Linked DNA regions of Homo sapiens: region 1 is linked to region 2. The links are contacts of gene promoters, found by promoter capture Hi-C in blood cells and fetal thymus (Javierre and others, 2016). All regions are on one chromosome and are shown on one strand. The core of a region is centred on a gene start or on the middle of the fragment in contact, and the rest is flanking DNA. Distances in the headings are between cores, read along the strand shown.

Region 1 (5,119 bases), core at 1,567-4,066, 220 kb before region 2:
TTTCCATTAATTTTTTTTTCTAGTTTTTATTTTGAAAATTTTCAAATTCTACCAAAAAATTGCAAGCTCATGTACTGTTCAACTACATTCACTAATTATCAAAATTTTCCCCCAATTCCTCCCCACTCTATGCATGCTTATGCTCTCAGAAACCCACATTTTCCTGGAGAACAATTTGAGACTAAGTTGCAAATATTGATTCTTCATCTCTACACACTTGGCATGTAACTCCTAAAATTATGGGATTCTCCTGCATAACTAAATACAATGATCATACTCACAAACTTTAACATTGATACAATATAACGTTGTGTAATATACATTAACATTGTGTAATATACATCCTATATTCAAATTTCCCCTGCAGTAACCTTCTATTAGGTTGGTGCAAAAGTAACTGCGGTTTTCGCCATTACTTTCAATTGAATTTCAATAACTTTTGCACCAGCCCAATATGAGCTGTATTCTTTCTCTTTCCCTCCTTTCCTTTCTACTTTAAAAAAAAATCCAGACTCTAATTCAGAATCATACACTTCATCTAATTATGTCTCTAAGTCTTCAGTAACAAGAATACGAATCTAGGGTTTCGTTTGGTTTTCTTTCTCCTAGTGACATTGACTTTTTGAAGAACTCAGGCTAGCTGTTTGGCAGAATGTCGCCCAGCTTGGATTTGTCTGATGGTGTCCTTATCATTAGATTCAGGTTAAATGTTTTGGCAGGAGGACCACATGGGGGAGGTGTCCCTTCTCAGTGCATCACATCAGAGGATCAGTTGGTTCCCTACTGATGAGAAGTTTGGACCATGGGTAAGGTGGTGACCTCGTTTCCCCTTGGTAATTCCTAAGTCATCTGTGGGGTAGCACTGTATTTACTGAAGGTCTCTGACTGTGGCAAATGCTGGGAGAGTCAGTGGTGAGCGCCCACACTCTGTCCTTGCTCTTGTGCTGTTTTTACAAAGGAGGGGACAGACAATAACCCAGGAAACAAATAATGACAAGATATGCAGTTTGATGAAGGACGTGGATAGGGTGCTGAGATAGAGAAGTATCAACTCTAGAGAAAGTGATCTTTAAGCTGAGACTTGAGCTGGAGGCATGCCTGTAGTCCCAACTCCTCAGGAGGCTGGGGTGGGAAGATCGTTTGAGCCCAGGAGTTCTGGGCTGTAGTGTGCAATGCCAATCAGGTGTCCACACTAAGTTTGGCATCAACTATGATGACCTCCTGGGGCTGGAGGACCACCAGGTTGCCAGGTGGCAAACAGCAGGTCAAAACTCCTGTTCGGATCAGTAGTGGGATCATGCCTGTGAATAGCCACTGCACTCCAGCCTGGGCAATATAGAGACACCCTATTTCTAAAAAAATACTACTAATAAAGAAAAAGGTGAAATTTGAATAGGAAAAAGGAGACACCCTTGGGAAGGTGGGGTGGAGGGGTTGGGGGTGGCTCCTAGTTAAGCTTGGAGGATAGAAGGAACCAAAAGACGGATGCACGGTGGTCTCAGGGAGGGAGGAATGAGCAGAGAAAGGCCCTAGGCCTGGAAATAATCATATTGAACACATGCTATCCTAATAGTGAACACCATCCTAAGTGTTTCACATGGTTTACCTTGTTTAATTCTCCTTGCAGCCCTGTGAAGTGAGCGTTATTACTGGTTTTATGCTGTAGAATCTGTGACACAGAGAGGTTGAGTAATTGCCCTAAGGTCACACAGCTTCTAAGTAGCAGTGCTGGATAGATCTGACTCCACAGACTGTGCTCTTAGCTGTGTCAAGCAGGAAGGCCCAGGGTTTCATCCAGAAAACAGAATGTGAAAAGGGACTGGAATGAAAGCAACCTGTACTGGGTGCAGAGGTGCTGTCGATAAAGGATGAGGGATGGGAAAGGAAGACAGAAGAAAGGCCTAGAAGATCAAAGGAGAAGGGTGTTCAAGGCTGCAGGCAGCACTGGAAGCCAGGCCAGCTCAGTTGACCACCTACTCTGGGCACATCCCCAACCCAGCCTGTCCCTTCAGGTCGGATTTGCAATTCTCCTGCTCTCCCTCCTCCTAAACACAAACAGGAGATTTACACTCTCAAAGTCTCTCCCCACAAATGACTTATTAATCACAAAGGGAAAAATTGTAACTTTGCAGTGGCACAACCTGGTCAATGCCAGCTTAACCAAGTGACCAAAGTGGATATTCAGGGAAGGCTCTGGAAGGGCATTTGGGGGAAGTGTAGAAAGGTTTTGTGAGGAGCACTCTGAATGACGGGGGTAGGAAGCCTTGGGGACTGAGGAGTCTACCCTAACAGGGCAGGGTCCAGAGGGGGAAGGAGGGGTATGTCTCGGGGGAAGGGAGAAGTATTGAGGTGGGGGAGGTTCTGAGGTTTGAGTGAGGCCCTGGGGAGGGACTTGACAGTTTGGGTGACAGGAGGGTCAGAATAGGGTCAGTATGGGATGTGTTGGGTGGGTAAAAGCTGGGTGAGTGCAGGGCTGGGGATAGGGTCTCCAAGGACAGTGAAAGGGTCGGGAGTCGCGGGCGAGGGCTCTAGGGCAACGGCCAGTGGAAGGGGGGGCTCCTGTGGCGTGAAGTCAAGCCAGCCCGAGGGTGAGGCGATTTGGACAGTCCGACCTGTGGCGGCGGGAGGGCGAGGGTGGCGGAGGGCGCGAGGTAGGCGGCGGGGCGTGCCGGGGCGGGGCCGGGGCGGGGCCGGCACCGCCCGGCGGGTCCCCCCGCGCTCCAGGGGGCGCTGTGAGCCTGGGCGGCCCCAGGCCGGGCGGCGGCCGCTCCCAGTGAGCGCGGCCCCTTTTCCGGGTTTCCTCCGCCTCCTCCTCCTCTCCTCCTTCTTCTCCGCTGCCGCCGCCGCTGCCCCTTTCCCGGCCGGTGGCTGCCGCTGCCGGTGCCGCCGCCGCCGCCTCCTGGGGGCCGCGAGCCGAGCGGAGACCGCCGCGGAGCGCGAGCGCCGCCCGCCCCGCCGCCCCGCCGGCCGCTCCAGGGCCGGGCCGGCTCGGCCGGCGCCCCCCGCGCCCCCAGCCCGCCCGCCCCCGCGGGCCCGGCCTGGCGCGGCCGCCCGCCGCCGCGCTCCTCCTCCTCCTCCTCCAGCGCCCGGCGGCCCGCTGCCTCCTCCGCCCGACGCCCCGCGTCCCCCGCCGCGCCGCCGCCGCCACCCTCTGCGCCCCGCGCCGCCCCCCGGTCCCGCCCGCCATGCCCGGCCCGGCCGCGGGCAGCAGGGCCCGGGTCTACGCCGAGGTGAACAGTCTGAGGAGCCGCGAGTACTGGGACTACGAGGCTCACGTCCCGAGCTGGGGGTAAAGCCGTCGCCGCCCCCCGCCGGGCCCGCTGATCCCTGCCCCCGCCCGGCCACCCCCTGCGAACCGCACTCGGGCCCGGTGGTGTCTCCCGCCGACCCCTCCGCGGGCCCGCAGGGAGGCAGAGGTCCCGCTCTCGCACATGTCCTCGTCTTCCTCTTCCCTCCCCTTTACCCCCGTTTCGTCCCTTTCTCCCCGCTTTGCGCACCCCTTTCCCCCAAGGAATGCTTTTTTACTCGGGGAGAAGTGTGGGGTCCAGGGATCGACGCCGGGTGGAAGTGAGGGAGCTGCCCTTCCTCACACTTCTGGGTTTCCACTGGGGTGGGAAGTCAACAGCTGTCCTTTGGAGCTATTAAAATGCCCTGCCTTTTAGGTTTTCTGAGATGAGGTGGTGGGAGGAAATTTCTTAAAGACGTCCAGATTTTTAAAACAGGCATTGTCTACCTTGAAGATGTGAAACGAGAAGCAGGTGCTGGGGAGCCGCGGGGCACAGGGGGCACCCTCTAGGCCTTCAGGACGGGTGCTTTGCTCGCCCCTCTGGATTGGCTCAGAGCGTTGCCTTCCTGCCCCATCTTCCCAAGTTAGGAGAGACCAATTAGGTTAGGAGCTCTGCAGAGTGAAGGGAGCCAAGATTATGTCGTGGCTTTCATTTAGGGAATGAGTTGTGACGTGATGTATAGACACTTCCAAGTGTTTGCCTGGTGGAAGCGGCTGAATGACGTGTACAGTGGGCATAGGCTTGGTTAACCCCCAGTCCTGGCATTTATGTGTGTGTCTTCCTTTTACAGTAATCAAGATGATTACCAACTGGTTCGAAAACTTGGTCGGGGAAAATATAGTGAAGTATTTGAGGCCATTAATATCACCAACAATGAGAGAGTGGTTGTAAAAATCCTGAAGGTGAGTGTCCTATGAGTGGTATGTAACATTTTCCTCCCCACAGGGCAAAAGTTTGTAAGGTACCCCAGTCACATTCTATAATGGGCAATGCAAGCTTGAATTTAATTTAATTTATTTGTTTAGAGTCAGAGTCTCACTCTGTCACCCAGGCTGGAGTGCAGATCATAGTTCACTGCAGCCTTCAACTCCTGGGCTCCAGTGATCCATCTCAGCCTCCCAAGTAGCTGGGACTACAGGTGCATGCCACCACGCCCAGCTATTTTTAAAATTTTTTTGTAGAGTCAGGGTCTGGTCATGTTGCCCAGGCTGGTCTTAAGCTCCTGAGCTCAAGCAGTCCTCCAAAAGGACTCCTTGCAGGCCTCCTATAGTTGCTGGGATTAGAGGCGTGAGCCACTGTGCCCAGCCGACGCTCAAATTTTATTTATCTGATGTCCCTTCATTACTTCTTTTTCCACCCCATTTTCCCATGAACTTTCAAGAAAATGTGCAGACATCACAAATCTAAGTTCAGTAAAGTGTTTGTTCTAAAATGTAAATTCCCTAAAGCAAAAATTCCAAAAGGGCTCCGTTTGTTAGAAAATAAATAGGTAATCAAAAGACAGAAAAGCCACTCTCAATTTAAGGGCTCCCTGAGCACTGTGTTTGTTACTCTTGGTGCATGCTGTATGTTATTCCAGAAAGAAAGTTGGAAAAAATTGGAGCGACTTCAGAAATGTATTTCAAGCCCAAGTGGAAGGAAATTCCTTAGCGGATAATCACTTGTTTTTTTCCTTTGGCAGTAAAGTTTCAGGTGGTATGGATACAGTGCACCAGTAGTGCTGAGAAGCCTTGTTGGGAAGCCAGAGAGCCATTGTTGCTTATAAGCTAGTAAAAATATAGAAGAGTTCATGTATAATTACTAAAGTAATAATTGGAACAAAACTATCTTAA
Region 2 (5,307 bases), core at 655-3,154:
ATGCCTCAGCCTCCCAAGTAGCTGGGATTACAGGTGCCTGCCACCACGCCTGGTTAAGTTTTGTATTTTTAGTAGAGATGGGGTTTCACCATGTTGACCAGGCTGGTCTCAAACTCCTGACCTCAGGTTATCAGCCTGCCTTGGCCTCCCAAAGTGCTGGGACTGCGCCCAGCCTCTAAGTGTTTTTTGTGCCTTATCTCCTTCTAACCCCACAACAACACTTTGAGGTAGGCCTTGTCAATTATCCTCATTGTACTGAGCAGTAAACAGAGGCTCAGACCTGGCCAAAGTGTCCTGGGCAGGGAGCAGCAGAGCTGGGACTGGCCTCTTTCATCCTTGCATCTGTCTCCCTCTTTCCTGAAACCATCTGCCCCTTCCCCAAAGGGGATCCTACACTGGTGTCCTAACCTTTGCGGCAGTAGGTGGTGGACTGGCAGTGCTCATCAGGAAGGCAGGCCTTGACGGTGTCCCTGTCCATGTGGCGCAGGGTGGGCAGGGCTGGGTGGTAGAGCTGCTGCTTCACGCCCGCCAGCTGGTTGCGCTGCCGCTCCATGGGAAGCAGGATGGCCGGGGAGGCATACACATGTGTGGAGCCATCGTCCCAGGGCACCAGGTCAATGATGCGGGCCATAGCTGGGGGGCAGAGGGTTCTAAGGGGCTCACCCTGGGCTCATGCTGGCCAGACACCCTTCTCTGCATGAAAACAACCTTGGCCAGTGCCGATGTCTACTTGCCAAACATTTATTTAGCACCTACTGTGTGCCAGGCCATTTTTCTGGAGCTCAGCATGAGGTGGCAGGAACATTCAGATAACAGAAGATAACAGAGACAACCCTCCCACTCCCCTTCCAACACACACATACACACACACACACACACACACACACTCACATTGTGCCATGGCTGTGAGGGAGGTCAGTACAGAGTGTGTGTTTCTGGGGAGGCTGGGGTTAGGACATTCAAGGAATGGTCTAAAAGAGGTGGTATTTGAGTCTATTCGTTTTTTTTTCTTTCTTTCTTTTCTTTTTTTTTTTTTTTTTGAGACAGTCTCACTCTTCTGCTCAGACTGAAGTACAGTGGCGCCATCTTGGCTCAATGCAACCTCTGTCTCCTGGGTTCAAGTGATTCTCCTGCCTCAGCCTCCTGAGGAACTGGGATTATAGGCATCCACCACCACATGTGACTAGTTTTTGTATTTTTAGTAGAGACGGGGTTTCACTGTGTTGGCCAGGCTGGTCTCGAACTCCTGACCTCAAGTGATCCACCCGCCTCAGCCTCTCAAAGTGCTGGGATTACAGGTGTGAGCCACCTTGCCTGGCGAGTCTATTCTTAAATAATAAGCAGGAAAGTGCAGCAGCAAGCGGGTTCAGAATGTAGCTTAGTATGCCGTATACCTCTGGGTGAATAATTATGGACTTGCCCTAGCTATTTACCCAAAATTCTACAGATTGACTCAGAAAGATTTTCAGGAAGGGGAGCAACATGATATATTTAAACTAGAAAAGCATTACTGGATACCCAGTGCCTCCCTTTAAAAAGCAGATAGTCCCAGGAGCCTTTCAGTCATTTACACTTTAGTGAGAATTTGTTGAGACAGCTTGCTTTCTTCCTGACCCTGAGTTAGAGGTGAGAGGTGGAGGTGGAAGCTAGGGTGGCAGGAGGAGAGAGGACCTTAGATCATGGAGGAGCAGGGAGGGGGCATGGTGACAAGGCATGGGGAAGCTGCCTTAGGGGATGTGACTGCCTGGGGAGGGACAGGGAGGGGGATCACGGATATGGGGAAGAGAGCAAGGGCTCCCTGCTTCTGACTCACCAATAGCAGCTACCTTATCTGTAGGGCCCAGGCCCAGGTGCACAGGCTTATAAGGACTTTCAGTTCTTTGACTGCTCAATGGGCAGAAGAGGAAGGGAGGTGGACGAGCCCTTATTATGGACAGCAGCAGAATAAAGGAACATTGTGCACAGACAATGCCCATTGCAGCCTGATTCTGAGGCACCCACTCCTTAGCAACCCTGGCAACTACAGGCTCTAACAAGAGCCTGTGCCAGAATTCCTGTGCTCTGGCCACTCCCTTCCAGCCTTCCTGAAGGCTGTGGTCTCCCAGGCCTTAGCACAGGCCAGGCATCTTGGGAAATGTCAGATGGGGAGCTGGGGTTCCCTGGAGGTAGTCAGGCCAAGGCAGGCCAGAAATGGCTACTGAGCCCACTGCAGGCTGTGTAATCCTGGGCTAATTACCGCCTCTCTCTGGGACTCAAGGCTCTCCTCTGTGTTAGGCAAGGACTCTAGGATCTGCCGTTAGGAGGATCTGGATGCTGAGAGGGATCTCCCCTCCCTGGAACCCTCAGGGAAGAGGGCACTGCACTGTCTGCCAGCCCTTGAGTCTCCAGGAGTGGAGATTAGCTGTGGCCAGTATCCAGGGTAAGCGTGAGGGGATCAGGGAGAGTGGTGGACTCAGCAGGCCAGGGATTAGCAGATGATACTCCACCCTCAGCCCCTGCAGGACTGCAGGCTCCCAGAAAAGCCAGGCTGTGAGTGCCCAAGGCCAGCACCCCAAAGCCCTGGGGCCTGCCCACCATCCTGGTCACAACCATTAGAGACAGACCCCCAAGGTGAGGAAACCCCAGGAGATCCTAACTTATTTGCATATATTGGCATGTGCTTTTGCATATACCTGCCCAGGGGCTGAACCTGATGGGTCTTGGAGCCCCTCCTGTGAAATTCTTGTAGGATTTGTTTCCCCAGTTGCTCCTCCTCCAGTGCTCCATACAGCTTCCAGAACAGCATTCCTAACTGCTACCCCTTACAAAAAACCTTCCCAGAGTTGACTCCACTCACCACCCCACCCCCAATTTATTTCTTGACTCTTTTAAAGTTATAAAATAGAAGAAATACAGAAAGTGAATAAATATCTAATGTAACTAATAATTTACAAAATGAGACCCCGTATAACTACCACCCACCCTGGTCAAGACATGGAGTACTACTTTTAAAACAGTTTATCAGTTTCTTAAAAAATGAAACAGAAATGTACCATATGATTGGGTCATCTGGAAGATTCTACCCCAGGAGGCTTCCCAAGAGAAATGAAAGTATATTGTGAGGCACGATGGCTCACACCTGTAATCCCAGCACTTTGGGAGGCTGAGGTGAGCAGATCACTTGAGGTTGGGAGTTTGAGACCAGCCTGGCCAACATGGTGAAAACCTGTCTCTACTGAAAACACAAAAATTAGCTGGGCGTGGTGGTGCAAGCCTGTAATCCCAGCTACTCAGGACGCTGAGGCAGGAGAATCGCTTGAACCTGGGAGGCGGAGGTTGCAGTGAGCCGAGATCGCAGCATCGCACTCCAGTCTGGGCGGCAAGAGCAAGACTTCGTCTCAAAAAAAAAAAAGTATATATCTTCACAAAGACTTGCACACAAATGTTCATAGCAACATGATGTATCGCCAAAAAGTGGAAACAACCTGTGTCCACTGATGAGTGGATAAACTGTGGTGCGTCTATACCATGCAATACTCTTGGGCAATGAAAAGAAATGAAGTTCTGATACAAGCTACGAGGTGGATGAACCTCATAAAACATTACGCTACATCAAAGAAGCCAGATGTGAAAACTCACATATTGTATGACCCATTTATATAAAATGTCCAGGAAAGACAAATCTATAGACGCAGAAAGCAGATGTGTGGTTGCCTGGGACTGGGGTGTACGAATGAAGAGTGGTTATCATCTGGTGTGAGGGGTCTTACTGGGGCAACGGGAATGTTCTAAAACCAGATGTGGCAAGAGTTGCACAGTTCAGTCAATGTGTTAAAAATCATGAGTTAGGCCGGGGCGGTGGCTCACGCCTGTAATTCCAGCCCTTTGGGAACCCCGAGTGGGTGGATTGCTTGAGCCCGGGAGTTCGAGACCAGCCTGGGAAACATGGCGAAACCCTGTCTCTACAAAAAATATGAAAATTAAATGGGCATGGTGGCATGTGCCTGTGGTCACAGCTACTTGGGAGGCTGAGGTGGGATAATCACTTCAGCTCAGAAGGTCGAGGCTGCGGTGAGCTATGATCACGCCACTGCACTCCAGCCTGGGTGATAGAGTGACACCCTGTCTTAAATAAATAAATAAATAATAAGTAATATAAAAGTCATTGAGTTGTATACTTACCATGGGTGAATTTTATGGCATATATATTCCCATAAGCTTGTTTTGAAAAATAGATGCCAGCCAAGTTAGTAAAAGAAAGCAAGACATTGGCCCTGCCAGTCCCTAGAAGCTTCCACATACACCTTCCCAATTACAACCCCCAACCCAGCAAGAAGGAACCACTCTCCCATCTTGTAGTACAACCTGTGCTTTTATTTATGGGCAACTATGGAAAACTTTATTTAACAACTCTAGGCTTTATAGAAAACTAGAGGTGGCAAATGTACTTGTGTTTGTAGCCATAGACAGGACAGACTAATTTTGCCTTTTGGGAATTTTGTATGCATGGATCACTGGGGTCTTCTTTTGAATCTGGCTTCTTTCTCTCCATATATATGCACATGAGTTTCATCCAAACTTTAGCCACTGTGTGTGGCTGTGTTTTGCTCATTTTCCCCACCCTAGAGCCCACTACTGTTCCCTCAGGCTCATCTAATTTTCCCTCCTTCCCACTCTGCAGGGGCTCCAACTGCCTCTAAGTTGCCCAATCTCAGGACGCATTTCAAGTCTCAGCTCAGACAGTGGCCCCTTGGATCATTCCCTCACCCCAACACAGCCACTACTCTTGGCTTTCACCTCACCCCATGCTTCTGCTTCTCCATCCCCATCCCTGGCAGCTCCTTCAGGCTCCTTTACCAGCTCCTGCTCTTTTTGCATCCTCTGAGTGAGCCCGTGTTCCAGGTGCCACCTCTGGTCATCTTTGTTTCCTTGGGTTTCCGAGGTGATATCAGTCAGTCCTGTGGCTTTAAGCATCATCTGCAAGCTGAGGCCTCCAAAATTTCTATCTCCTGTAGACCTCTCCCTAAGTCTCACACACACACACACACACACACACACACACACACACATTTCAACCTGGATGTCTCTCAGACTTTTTTTTTTTTTTGCTTAGGCTGGAGTGCAGTGGTGTGATCTTGGCTCACTGCAACATCCACCCACCGGGTTCAGGCAATTCTCCTGCCTCAGCCTCCAGAGCAGCTGGGATTATAGGCACCTGCCACCACACCCGACTAATTTTTGTATTTTTAGTAGAGACGGAGTTTTGCCATGTTGGCCAGGCTGGTCTTGAACTCCTGACCTCAGGTGATCCACCTGCTTTGGCCTCCC

The links. The method cuts DNA at HindIII sites, captures the fragments that hold promoters and counts their contacts. A CHiCAGO score of 5 or more calls a contact.
Region 1: the fragment with the promoter of CSNK2A2 here is called in contact with the fragment with the promoter of SPMIP8 in region 2 in 17 of 17 cell types (total B cells, fetal thymus, non-activated CD4 T cells and 14 more); the score reaches 27.6 in total B cells.

What each region holds. Positions count from the first base shown.
Region 1 is chr16:58,195,803-58,200,921 of GRCh38, reverse strand. It overlaps CSNK2A2 (casein kinase 2 alpha 2), which reads left to right and starts at 2,816. Exons shown (of 12, transcript NM_001896.4): 1 at 2,816-3,289; 2 at 4,078-4,189. The coding sequence starts at 3,186. It also overlaps the pseudogene RN7SL645P. RefSeq lists silencers at 2,463-2,592, 2,643-2,912, 3,313-3,382. The HindIII fragment of the contact is 2,827 bases long and covers 1,459-4,285 here.
Region 2 is chr16:57,973,141-57,978,447 of GRCh38, reverse strand. It overlaps SPMIP8 (sperm microtubule inner protein 8), which reads right to left and starts at 1,904. Exons shown (of 8, transcript NM_199456.3): 1 at 1,814-1,904; 2 at 409-633. The coding sequence starts at 631. The HindIII fragment of the contact is 9,202 bases long and covers 1-4,199 here.